2 separate regions of the Homo sapiens genome follow, and region 2 is linked to region 1. The links are contacts of gene promoters, found by promoter capture Hi-C in human tissues and cell types (Jung and others, 2019). All regions are on one chromosome and are shown on one strand. The core of a region is centred on a gene start or on the middle of the fragment in contact, and the rest is flanking DNA. Distances in the headings are between cores, read along the strand shown.

The links. Contacts are between HindIII fragments. The study calls those that stand out against the background at their distance.
Region 2: a fragment that was not itself captured here is called in contact with the fragment with the promoter of LRTM2 in region 1 in 1 of the 25 tissues and cell types used here (pancreas).

Annotation. Positions count from the first base shown.
Region 1 is chr12:1,819,006-1,825,029 of GRCh38, forward strand. LRTM2 (leucine rich repeat transmembrane protein 2) reads left to right here and starts at 1,560. Exons shown (of 5, transcript NM_001039029.3): 1 at 1,560-1,809. All of the region lies in intron 26 of CACNA2D4 (calcium voltage-gated channel auxiliary subunit alpha2delta 4), which reads right to left. RefSeq lists an enhancer at 1,130-1,876. The HindIII fragment of the contact is 8,239 bases long and covers 1-4,447 here.
Region 2 is chr12:1,863,159-1,869,949 of GRCh38, forward strand. All of the region lies in intron 18 of CACNA2D4 (calcium voltage-gated channel auxiliary subunit alpha2delta 4), which reads right to left. It also overlaps the pseudogene LAMP1P1. Among named protein-coding and RNA genes, the nearest start is that of LRTM2, 46 kb to the left of the region's middle. The HindIII fragment of the contact is 4,711 bases long and covers 2,117-6,791 here.

The DNA of each region.
Region 1 (6,024 bases), core at 310-2,809:
AAAAAAAAAAAAGGAAAGGAGATGAAGCAGACCACAGAAAGCTCCTGCACAACATGAGGGTGGCCCAAAGAGAATGCCAGAGATCGGAGGAGGAGCAGGGCCAGTCCTGTGGTGTTCCGGGGAAACGTCACCTTGCAGGGGGCGTTTAAGGAAGGGGGAAGCCACCCATGGGCAGGAGAGCATTTCAGGCCCAGGGAAGAACACGCTTTCATGGAGATGGAGAAGCAGGAAGTATGTTTATGGGGAGGTGGGAGCCTCTTTTGCTTGACAGTGGGATGTGTGGGAGGCACCAGCATGAGAGGTCAGAGGCGGGACTCCCCAGAGGTAAAAGACACTGCAGCTCAAGCCTTGTGCTGCCCGGGGACCCGGCAGAACGGACAGAAGGGAGTGAGCAGGAGCATCCTTCTAGGGGCATCCTGAGTCCAGGGGGTTCTTCTACACCCACCCCAGTCCTGGCTGTGAACCCCTCCAGCAAAGCAGGCAAAATGGAAGAGGGACATAGGACACGGTGATATATCGCTAGCACGGTGCTTCATCTGTCTACAGGCAGTGGACGCAAAGGAAGGGGGATTTAGGGTTCGTGCTCCAGGCTGGTGGGGCCCTGGCTCCCCTCTAGCTTGGTCCCTGACTCACTTGGCCTTCAGATCAGCCACTTCCCATCTCTTAGGATATCAATTTTTCTGACTTGCTTTGTCCTGATTGGTTAAGAAAGAGGCCTCCAAGTTCTTGAATGACAGTCTCTTCCCTTCGCATGCCTGACCCATCACAGATAAGAGCAAGGAGCCCTGAGAAGCCAAGCTCGTCCCTGGCACTGAGAACGGTCTGCAGGCTGCTGCTGCAGGCTGCCCTGTGCCCAAACTCCCAGCCTGCCAACTCTGGCATTCTGCTTCCCTAAGTAGTCCTGGCGTCGGGTGGTCAGACCCTGAGGCTCAGTGACCTCTGCATGACCATGTGATCCCTGGCTTTGTGGGGGCTCAGGGCCCTTTCCTGTAGGGTCATCTGGCACATGGACATGCCTGTGTACCCTTCTTTCGTATGACCGAGAGAAGGGTTCGGTTTTTCCTTCTCTCAGGCAGGATGGGAGACTCTGCCTCGCATGTCTCTAAAACAGGAGAAAGACCAGCTTCCCAGGGGGGCCTCCATCGGAACAGAAGTCAGCCGCTTGCTCTGTGTCTGCGCCTGTCCCTCTTTCCCCAGATGGAGGGGAAGAGAGGAGAGAGGCACAGAAGACAGGTGCAGCCGGGGGGGTGAGGGAGAGCCTGGAGGCGCAGGATGGAAGATGGAGGTGGTGGTGAAACCGCTTTCCTCCTCCCTGTGGTCGGCAGCGATTCATCCACAGGCGCCTTTTTCCACTGAAATGTGAGCGTGGCCAGGGTGAGCGCTGCCCTCGCGGCCGGCCGTGGTGCCTCTGGTGTGCGCCTGTGTGTGCTGCTGCCGCTGTCATCACAGATGCACCCCAGCTGTCACTCCCCGCTCCACTCTGGCTCGCTGCTCGCGCACACGCGTGCGCTCTCCTCCCTCGCCCCTTTCTTCCCTCTCTCCTCTCTCTCTCTCCCTCCATCCCTCTCTTTCCTTCTCAGTTTGTGACTGACCCAGCAGCCCCGTCCCCCGTCTGCCACAAGCAGTCCACCTCCTGGTGCTGTGTGCTGCGTGCCAGCCGCTGCTCCCGCTGAGTGGAGACTCTGGCACCAGTGCCCACTGCGCTCTGCCTGCCGGTGGTGTCTGGATTTCTATAGGAATCCCAGGAGGGTCTTACTGGAGGGTTGAGAGCCACCTGATTGAAGGCGTTTGCAGTCAGAGTAAAGACGGGTGAGTACCGAGTGGCTGGTAGGAAGGAATGGAGGGTTGGTGGGGACAGGGGGTGGTCGGGGCATGGGAAGTGGGCACCGGCCATCTCTGCCCTGCAGGAATAGCTGCAGTTGCTTCCTACCTGCAGGCAATTGCTGGGGCCGAAGAAGCTGCTCGGGCTCAGGCACCTGAGCATCCCAAAGGTGCACGACACTGGGAACTCTGAGCCCACAGTGCTGGGGACAAGAGCTGTGGATTCTGCTGGGAAGTGGGGAGGAGGGCAGCGCTGGCGCCAGATGACAGTCCCGGGTGGCATAGAAACCGGTCCCTGCAGCATGGGAGAAGCAGCCAAGAGCCTTGTGCTGTCGTTGTGCCCGGCTCTGCACAGACAGCCCCAAGAAACTCGGGGGTCATGGGAAGCGGTTGGGATGGCAGTCAGGTGCTGGGGACAGGGCCAGGTCAGAGGAAGGCTTGGGGTGGAGGGTGGCAGGGAGGAGGTCCTGGATGTCAGAGGCATGGGCACAGACCCAGGTCCTGGGCCTCCCTATAGCTTGCCTGCAGGTGGCTGTCCTTGGACAAGGGTGTGGAGGAACCCTCCCCCAGATGAGCATGGGCCCACTCAGCTGTGCATGAAGCCTCCCTGGTGAGGGTGAGGCTGGGAGTGGGCAGGAGAGAGAAGTATCGCAGCCCTTCCCTGCTAGCCCAAGGGCAAGACAGGAGAACCAGGCCCGCGAGAACCTGCTGGGGTGTCCCGCAGCTGTGCACCCAGCCGTCCATCTGCAAATGGGTCAGGGAGCCTTAGTGGGGGCTGGACACTGAGCTTGGGTGGGGGGTACACAGCGGGGCCAGGCCTGCCTGGCTTCTTGACCCACACAGGGGGCATGGACACCCTGAGTAGAGCGGGACAGTTGCTCTCAATCCCCCAGACCCATTTGGACAGTGCTGGAGAGAGGAGCAGCCTGACCAGGAGTCGGAAGTTCACATTCCTGCACCTCCCTGCAGGTCTGGGGCTGGGTTCCAGTTGGCGGCCCTGTCTCTCCCCCACCCCCAAGCTGTCCACATTTCTGGGGGGTGTTGGCACCCGGCTGTCAGGGCTACTTGGGCAGTGTCTCTTTGTGACTCAGATGACACCCCTGCAGCTTAGATAACTGCCTCAGGTGGGGGCGGGGAGGGAGCCGAGCACGTGGAGCTGAGGCGGGGGAAGTCCAGCTGGTAGGGAAACCCGACAGCAGCTTCCGAGCTGCCAAGAAGAGCCCAGCTTTTCCCACCCCCACCTCCCCACCGGCAGAAAGAAAGTCTCAGCACTGCCAAAAGAGGGAGACCAGGAAAGCCAGGCCCGCGGGGAGGGGTAAGGAGAGAGGCTGCTTAAGCAGCCGATCTGGTGTCTTTGGGGTTTGACAGAAGCTTGTCTGGGCCCACGAGGAGCAAACTCTGCTCCCGTTTCCCAGGCACCAGAGCCCAGGGGCCGCCTCTGGGCTGCTATGGCCTCAGTGGGCAGTGTAGGAAGGAGGAGGGGATGGCATGTATGTGATGGTTGGGGGTGTCTGGGAGTTCTGGGGGTGGGCAGAGGAGAAAGGAGCCAGCATAGAGGCTGTCTGCCCCTCTGGTCTTCCTCCTTTTTCCCCCAGCCAAGCCTCCTGTGCCCTGCCTGGGAATACCACCCTGAGCCCAGCCCCAGGGACACCACCCTGAGCCCGGCCCCAGGGCCCAGTGGACACCTTAGCCTCCTTCATGTCAGGGACCAGCTCCCATGAGGGGCCACTCAGGAGGCTTCTCTGTTCTGCTTCCCAGAGGGTCTGTTTGAGATTGAGAATATTTGACAAGGAAACGGGGGTGCAGGAGGCTGGGGGTGAGGATGGGGCATGTGTTTTAAAATGAACCAGGAGGGTATATGGCTGTTCCAAGTACAAATATAGAGATTTTTAAAACCTGGTTCCTTGCTGCCTGGGCAGTGTGTGTGATGGGGGTGATGGGCAGCTGTCCTAGAGGGCCTGGGTGCCCAGACAGGCAGCGGTAGGCGGAGCCCAGCCTAGACGGCTGTGGCAGCCTCCCCTGCGTCCTGGCCACATGGAATCTCGGGCCGTCTTTGGCCCGGGGCTCTGGCTGGCCACTCTCCGGGCTCCCTCTCAGCCTTCCTGGGGTTGGTGGAAGGGCACGGCCCCTGCAGGCCCAGGGTGTGGGCCCAGTCGTGGCTCTGCTTCTCTCTGGCCTTCTGCAGAGTGAAGGGGGCGGCAGAGTAGGCTGCAAATGCCCCCTTTACCCCTGAGTTCTGTGACTCTTCCATGCTGAGGGGTATGGACTCTTGACCAAGGGGAGATGCCAGGGGAGTGGGCACACCCTAGGGCTAGTGTGATGGCCCAGGAGTCAGGAATTCAGAGGTGGAGGCCCGATGGGCATTATCTGGCTGTGTGTCTTGGATGCTTGATGTGGAGGGATAGACATGCGCAGAAGCCTGAGAGGAAGGGTGCGGACACCAGGTCTGTGGTGAGTGTGCTGGAGGTTTCTAGCTAGAGTCTGAGACTGATTAATTAACCTCCATCTGAGGAGAAATGGAAGGGGCAGGTGCATGGAGCGGTCCAGGCTCCTGCCGTCCCAACCTAGCTCTCTGCAGTGAGTGAGTGCGTGCGGCTGTTCCGTGCTCTGAGGGGGCCGAGTGGGGTGCTAGCAGGGAGGCAGCTCCCACTCCCAGTCTCCTGGGGTGGCTACAGCCCACTCAGCTCCGCATGTGGAACCCCCTGCTCCTACTGGGGCCTCCTGCTCCCCCATGGCCTCCCCAGCCTTGGCTCCCCCAGAACAGAGCTCCGGCCTACTCCCCTCACCTCAGCACACAACCCCCAGCCAGAAAGGTTTCTAGAAAGCCCCCCACCTTCCGTAAGATCTTGGCCTCCCAGGACTTCAAGAAGAGAGGCTGGGAAGAGGAGAACCTGTCTTGCTTGCATCTCAGTCCAGCAAGTCACAAAGCCTGTTCCTTCATCAGGGCAATGGGGACAAAAACAGCTGCCTTCTCAGCTCCAGCGGGAGTGGATCAGGCAATGCCGTGGACACTGCAGAGGACCATTCAGAGGAAAGGCGGCATCTTCCTTTCCTACCTCTGCCTTTCCTGTACAAGTAACCCCCACGTGTAAGCAGACAGACAACTGAGTTAGGAGCCAGAGAGCTCGGGCTCAGAGCCATATGATTCCATTTGCCTAACTTTAGGTGAGTTATTTCATTTCTGGTGCCTCAGTTTCCCCCATCTGCAAAATGATAGTAACAAGAACACTAACCTCAGAGAGTTGTTACAAGGATTCAGAAAACTACACAGGTTTGTGACTGTGGTAATTTTTTTCTCCCCAGGTCCCAGTTAGCTTCTCAGTGGGTCCTGGAGGCTCAGGGACAGGCCAGCATGGTCTCCTCGGTGGCCGTTTGCCCTGCTGAGAGGTGCCCGGCCTAGTCGTATCAAACTCAAATATGCATGAAAATCCCCTGGGGATCTTGTTAAAATGCGGATTCTGACTCAGTCATTCTGGATGGGCCCTGAGACTACCTTCCTACAAGGCTCCCAAGCTAGACCAATGCCGCTGGTCCATGGACCACACTTTGAGTTGCAATGGTCTACACTCAAAGCCCCATGTTTCTGGCCCTCCAGAGTTCCTCATTTGACTGCTTTGAGCTCTTCAGCCCCATTCTCCAATCCTGGCTCTCTCTGGAAGGGAGGCCAGGGACTCCGTGGAGGCCTGGCCCCTTATCTTTGGCCTCCCTGTCTCTAGGACTGGGTTAGGAGCAGGCCCAGCATCCAGAGTGGATGAGGCCATGGGACTTGCAGACAGGAGATCTCGCTGTCCCCCATGCTGCACCCTGGGTAGGGACTTCCCTCCCAGACTGTGAATTCATTTCAGCAGCTGTCAGTGCCTGCTGCGGCAGCTGCTCTCCAAGCTTCCCAATGTAGGTCACCCCCTTTCCTTAAGGAGGCTCCACTCTTCTGGGGGTGGGAAGGGTCCTTTGGATGGAGGCGTGTTGGTAGGCAGAGGCTAAGGAACTAGGGAGTGCTGGCTGCAGCCCCACCTCTCTCTAGGAGTCCCTCTGTGGTGCCACACACATATGACTGGTGTTCCCTGCAAGCTGCGCTATTTTTCCTGCTCTTGGGAAGGCCCTGGTGTCCAGGAGGAAGCCCAAGGGACCCAGGGAGGCAGGATTAGCTGCTAAGAGAGCACAGGGCATATCCGCATGAACCTGGGGGCCTTGTTTTCATCACAT
Region 2 (6,791 bases), core at 3,222-5,721, 47 kb after region 1:
GTTCTAGGACCATCTGTTGAAAAGATTGCCTTGCTCCAATGACACTCCAAGGTGTCTTGATTGAAAAATCAATTGATAATATATGTGTGGGCTATTTCTGGGTTCTCTATTCAGGTCATTGACCCATTTGTCTATTCTTTGGTCAATACCACCCAGCTTGGTTATTGTAGCTTTATAGTAAGTTTTGAAATCAGATACTGTGAATTGTCCAAATTTGTTCTTCTATTTCAAGATAATTTTGCCTATTCTAGGTCCTCTGCATTTTCATATAAATTTTAGAACCAGCTTGTCTGTTTCTAGGAGTCTGTTCAAATTTTGATCGGATTGCGTTGAATCTATAAATCAATTTGGGGAGAATGAATGTGTTAACAATACTGATCTTAACCCATAAACAGAGTTATATCTTTCTATATTTACTTTTTTCTTTGATATTCTTTCCGCAATGTTTTGTAGTTTTCAGTGTAGAGGTCATATATACGTTTGTTAAATTTATTCCTAAGTATTTTATGTTATTTGATGCTATTGTCATTGGAACTTTAAAATATTTCATTTTCTTTCTTTTTGGAGAAAGACACTTTTCGTTAGCATTGTTACAGGCAATGCATTATGTGAGCTGGTCCTGTGTACAACCATCCCAAGCCACAGCAGACACATCAGTAGATAATATCTATCTAATATTGTACACAGCGCAGAAACAGGATCACCCTGAATGTCAACAGAAGACTGAAAATCACTTTACAAAAAAAAAAAAATAATAACACCCATTTTCATATTTTAAAAAGTGCCAGCCCTTGAGCAGCAGAGTTTCGGAAATGCGGGAGGACATGCCACCAGGTGCCTTCGCTGGAACGTGGCCGCCAGCCGTGAGTGGCCGGGCCCATCCCGTCCAAAGACAAATGTCTGGAGTGCTTCCGCTCATCTTTAAAAGGCGGCCAGGCCCGTTTATCTTTGGAGTTCTTCTGTCTTAGGATTTTCCCTCTCTACTGTTTGTAATTTCATGAGCATGTCAGCCTAACGGTGAGCCGACCTTCAGGCTCCTAAGCGTGAAGGCCGGAGACTCTCCCTTTGTAAGGCTTAAATCTGAGTGCAGCAAAGAATGAGGAAACCAACCCCGGACATTTTAAAGTCGAATGACAATGGAGCCAGTGCCAATGTTGAGAAGCACTACCACCGTCCCTTAGAGTTCTATTTTGGTAAATACGAATGTTTAACCAGTTGGCAAAATATTTAACCCAGTTAGCAAAATTAACACCGTCATTTCCATAGTTACTCTGCCGTGTATGGCAAATGCTGCAAGATGAACATCCCATTTGATGAAGCACATTTGAGAAATGTTTGCCAGAAAGTGTGCCTCTGTCTCAGGACCCTAAGCCCAGGGGGATGAACAGAGACCCCAGCAGCTCTGTGCCTGCTGCCGTGCGGGTGACTCCTCTTCCTGCCGACAAGGTGGGCGATGAGAACGAGGAGGCCCAGTCCCACCAGGGCGCCGCCGACGGCGATGGGGATCGGCGTGTTGTTCTCGCCCAGCAGACGCTCCTCCGCAGATCCGAACTGGTTGCCTTCCACCTTGAAAGCCTGGCCCCACACTGGGAATATGTTGATTGAAAACGCCTTCGTGCCGCGGACACGCTCCGCTCCGGCTGTAGAATTGCCGATGGCTGCCCGCAATGCTCGCAGGGAGTCGTTGGCAGCTTTAAAAGTGGGGTCTCTGGGGTCAGGAAGAGTCGTATTCAGCTGGATTCCTCGTAGGAAAATCCGGCTAGAACCTGCATTCATCCCCAACCGGAAGCCCAGGACCGTGGTGCCCTCGCCGCGCCGCTCCCGGGTCTCCAGGTGGGCGCCGCGCTCCCGCTGGCTGAGGTCATGCCCAGGTCACCGTCGCGTGGTCCCTCCTCTCTGGGTGAGGTTCAGCTGCAGTCCCGCGCTGGCCGGCAGGCAGGCCCCGTGGGTGCCGCTCACGCTGTACCTGGCCACGGAGGGGAGAAGGGGCTCTCGGCGCCGTGGCGGGGAAGGCGCGTCTTGCTCGTGGCGCGTCTCTCCCTTGCTGAAGCTGCTGTTGGAAATCTAGGCCTGGATCGGGGCACCGCGGAGCCTGATGGTCTCGCTGTTCGTGCGGACCTGGGGGCCTTGATATCTGGTAGAGATTCCACAGTCCTGATTTCCTTGGAGCTTGCACTGAGGAAAATGTGTGTGTCTGACAAGTTGTAAACAAAACTCATGAGCTGGACGCTGTCACGTGTCGCACTTCTTGTGAAATGGAAGGTCAGTGTCTGTCTTCCTCCAAAGCACAATCGCGTGCCTGGGGTCGGAAGTGTTCTCTTTACTGCAAGAGCCACTGTCAAGCACTTCCGCATTGGATGGCAGGTCAAAGGTCACATTCTTAGAGCCACTCTTAGAGTCGTAGTTCATCGAGAAGGCAGCGAAGCTGGCCATTACGCAGGCTGTCCCGTTGCCCTTTTTCACCGCATCCGCTGCGGCTGCACCACGCACGAGGCCCAGCAGCAGCAGCAGCACCAGGGGCAGCCGGGGGCTCCACCAGATGCAGCCCGGGCGGCAGGCGCGAGGGGAGCCGGTGTGTGGGGAACCGGGGCGCGGGGAGGCGGTTGCGGGGCGCTGGCCTGAAGGACGGTGGCGTTCCTGGACCAAAAATATTCCATTTTCTGTTTGCTGCTATATATGCAAATAACATTAATTTTTATAAAATCGTGTTCTCTGAACTTGCTAAACTTACCTATTAGTTCTAGTGTTTGTTTTGTAGATTCTTGGGATGTTCTATGGAAACAATAATTTTGTCCCTGAATGAAGGCAGTTTTACTTCTTCCTTCCTTGTCTTTGTGCCTTTTATTTTGTTTTCTTGCCTTACTGCAGGGGCTGGGACCTACAGTGCAAGGCTGAATAGAAGTGGTGAGAAGTCCTCCTTGCCTTGTTCTCAATTTTAGGGTGAGAGTGTTCAATATTTTACCATCAAAAGTTAGCTCCAGGTTTTTCATAGGTGCCTTTCATCAGAGGGAAGAAGTTTCTTTCTGTTCTTAAATTTTGTCAAATGCTCTTTTAGCATCTATTGAGATTACCCTCTATCTTTTCTTTTTTATTCTGTTAATGTAATAAATTGCACTGACTGATTAATTTTTTCAATGTTAAATTAACTTTAAATTTTTGAGATAACTCTGCTATGTGCTATTGTTGCCATATAATTTACACTTACATATATTACAAACCCCACAATGCAACATCGAAACTTTTGCTTTAAATAGTCAGTTGTCTTTTTGAGAAATTAAGAGAATAAATAAAATATAGTCTTTTATTAACCCACATTATTTATCATTTCCAGTATGGTTGATTCTGTCCTGTAGACCTGCAGTTGATGTCACTTTATTTCAGCCTAAAGAATTTTCTGAAGCATTTTTGCTGCTGGTCTTGATAATAATGAAACCTCTGTTTCCTTCTATCTGAAAATGTCTTTTTTTGTTGTTTGTTTTGGAGACATAGTCTCACTCTGTTGCCCAAGCTGGAGTGCAGTGGCATGATCACAGCTCATTGCAGCCTCAACCTCCTGGGCTCAAGTGATTCTCCCGCCTCAATCTCCTGAGTAGGTGGGACTACAAGTGCATGCCACCACACCTGGCTAATTTTTTTTTTTTTTTTGTATTTTTTTGTAGAGATGGGGTCTCCCTATGTTGTCCAGGCTGGTCACGAACTCCTGGGCTCAAGTGATCCTCCTTCCTTGGCCTCCCAAAACGCTGGGATTACAGGTGTGAGCTACTGCCCCGGCCTGAAAATGTCCTTACCGAAGACATTATCCTTATTTTTGAAGTGTATTTTCTCTTTCTACAGAAATTTGAGTAGACAGTTTTTTCTTCTCTTGGCACTTTAACGATGTTATTTTGTTGGTTCTTATATACAGCAGTCTTATTGTTTCCCTTTATGTAATGCATCTTTTTTCCTTTAGCTTTTTTGAAGATTTTCTCTTACCTTTGGATTTTAGTAGCTGGACTATGAAGTACCCAGATGTGGTTCTCTTTGTCTTTTTATCCTGCTTGGGGTTTGCTGAGATTCTTGGATCTGTAGATTGCTGTTTTATGTCAAATTCAGGACATTTTTGACAATTAGTTTTTCAAATATGCTTTTTTTCTGCTTGAGTTTTTCTCCTTACCTTCTAGGGCTCCAAGAACATGTAATTAGACCACTTGATACCATCTCACAGGTTGCTGAAGTTCTGTTTCTTTCTCTGTCTTTTTCCCCATTTTCCCCCTGGTTTTTAAATTGGATAATTTCTACTGATCCATCTTTAAGTTCACTGTCCCTTTATTCTACAACCTGCTGGGAAGCCTATCCAGTAAAGCTTTCGTTTCAGATACGGTACTTTTTGGTTTTAAAATTTTCATTTGGAAGCATAAGAAACAACAGCTAAAATAAAAAGTGACTAATACCTTCTGCATAGCAAACAATCAATAAAATGAAATGGCAACCTATGGATTGGGAGAAAATATTTGCACATTTTATAAGGGACATAAAAATCTTATAAAATATATGGTTTGCAAATATTTTATAATATCCGAAATATATAAGGAACCCACACAACTCAACAGCAAAAAAACCAAAAAACAACACCACCACCCCACACATCCAAATAATCTGATTTAAATATGGACCTGAATAGACCTTTCTCAAAAGAAGACATAAAATGGCCAACAGATATTTGAAAAGCTGCTCAACATCATTGATCATCAGAGAAATGCAAACCCAAACCACAATGAGATGCCACCTCATACCTCTTAGGATAGCTTCTACCAAAAAGACAAGAAATAAGTGTAGACAAGGGTGTGAAGAAAGGGGAACCTTTGTACACTGTTGGTGGGAATGTAGGTTGGTGCAACCACTGTGGAAAACAATATGGAGGAGCCTAAAGAAATGAAAAGTAGAACTGCCATGTGACCCAGGAGTCCCACTTCCATGTATATACCCAAGGGAAAGGACATCACCACCTCATAAAGATACCTGCACTTCCATGTTCATTGCACCATTGATAGCCAAGATATTGAAACAACTGAAGTATCTGTTGATGGATGCATAAAGAAATTGTAGTGCTTATAAATACAGAGGAATATTATTCAGCCTTAACAAAGAAGGAGATTCTGCCATTTGCTACAACATGGATGAACCTAGAGGACATTATGCTACGTGAAATTAGCCAGACACAGAAAAAAATGCTGCGTGATCTCACTTATATGTGGAATCTAAAATAAAAATGGAATACATAGAAACAGAGAAAAATGGTGGTTACTAGCAGCAGGGGAAGGCACGGTGGGAGGTGGGGAATGAGAAAACGTTGGTCAAAAGGTACCATGTTGTGATTATCTAGGATGACTAAGGCTAGAGCTCTAATGTACAACATGAGGACTAGAGTTCATTGTATTGTATTGTATTGTACACTGGAAACTGGCCAAGAGCACAGAGTTTAGGTGTCCTTACCACACACAGGCTAAAGCAAAGGTAACTATATGAGATGATGGGTATGCTAATTTGCTTGACTGTAGTCATCCCTTCACTTCACTTTGTATATCAAGATAAGTACAGTTGGTCCTCCCATATCCACAGGTTCCACATCCCTGGATTCGATCAACTGTGGATCAAAAAGTATTCCAGAAAAAAGGATAGTTGCATCTGTACTGAATATGTACAGACTTTTTCTGTCATTATCCCTTAAACAATACAGTGTAGCTATTTATATAGCAATTACACTGTATTAGGTTTTATAAGTAATCTGGAGATGATTTAACGTATTAGGGAAGACTGTGTAGATTACACATAAATCTACACCATTTAATAGAAGGGACTGGGGCATCCATGGATTTTGGTATCTTTGGGGTGTCCTGGTCCAATCCCCATGGATGCTGAGGGATGACTGCGCATCACGTTGTGCACCTTAAATATATACAATCGAAAAGCAGGTCTAAAGCAAGAAAAAAATTCCTGTTTGGTTCTTATAATGATTTTGTACTGTGTCAAATTAGCTAAGCTGGAACTACACTTCCAGACTCAATGCCCAGTGTGGTTTCGAGTCAGGGTCAGCCAAAGAGAAGTGTGTGTGAGATTTGCAGACAGAAGTGCAGCAGTAGCCGTTTTGCACACTGAAGTCCGCACAGAATACCAGGCTCTGCCACTCTTTGCTGTAACCTACCGTCGTGCTTTCTAGGCATGGGCCGAAGCCAGATTCAAAGCCACCCGCTGCTGCTGGCTCTCCTCCTTCAGTTTCCCTGAGACCTAACCTGGTGAGGATGCAGCTCCTCATGGAAGGCACTGGCTCCGTCTGCGGGTCATCTGCCATCCTGATGGGTAGAGTTGGTGAGTGACAGATGTGGGTTTCAGTTTGTTTTCACGGATTCCTGTTTTTCCTCTTGAGTTCCAGTTCGTTCTTGCTTTCTTCCACATCTCATCCAGCTTTCCTTCCCAACTGCTGGTCATGCTGACCTACAATGACTTCAAGCTCACCATTGGATGCAGACACCAGCTTTCCATAGATTTCATAAACAGCTCCCACAGTTTCATAAGGTCTAATCCCTACGATAAAATCCTACATTCTATCACTCCCAGGGGCTCTGTTCTTTGACCAAGCCCTAACCATTTCTCCGCTGAGATTCTCCATCTGTTCCCTCATTATGAACATCTTTTCCTTTACACAGTTACAATGTCTGCACTAAAGTCATTCTAATTCTAACAGCTGGGTCATAACACTTTTTATTATATACTGGATATTTGAGGGGTAGGCTGTAGATACTCTTGTCTTCCTT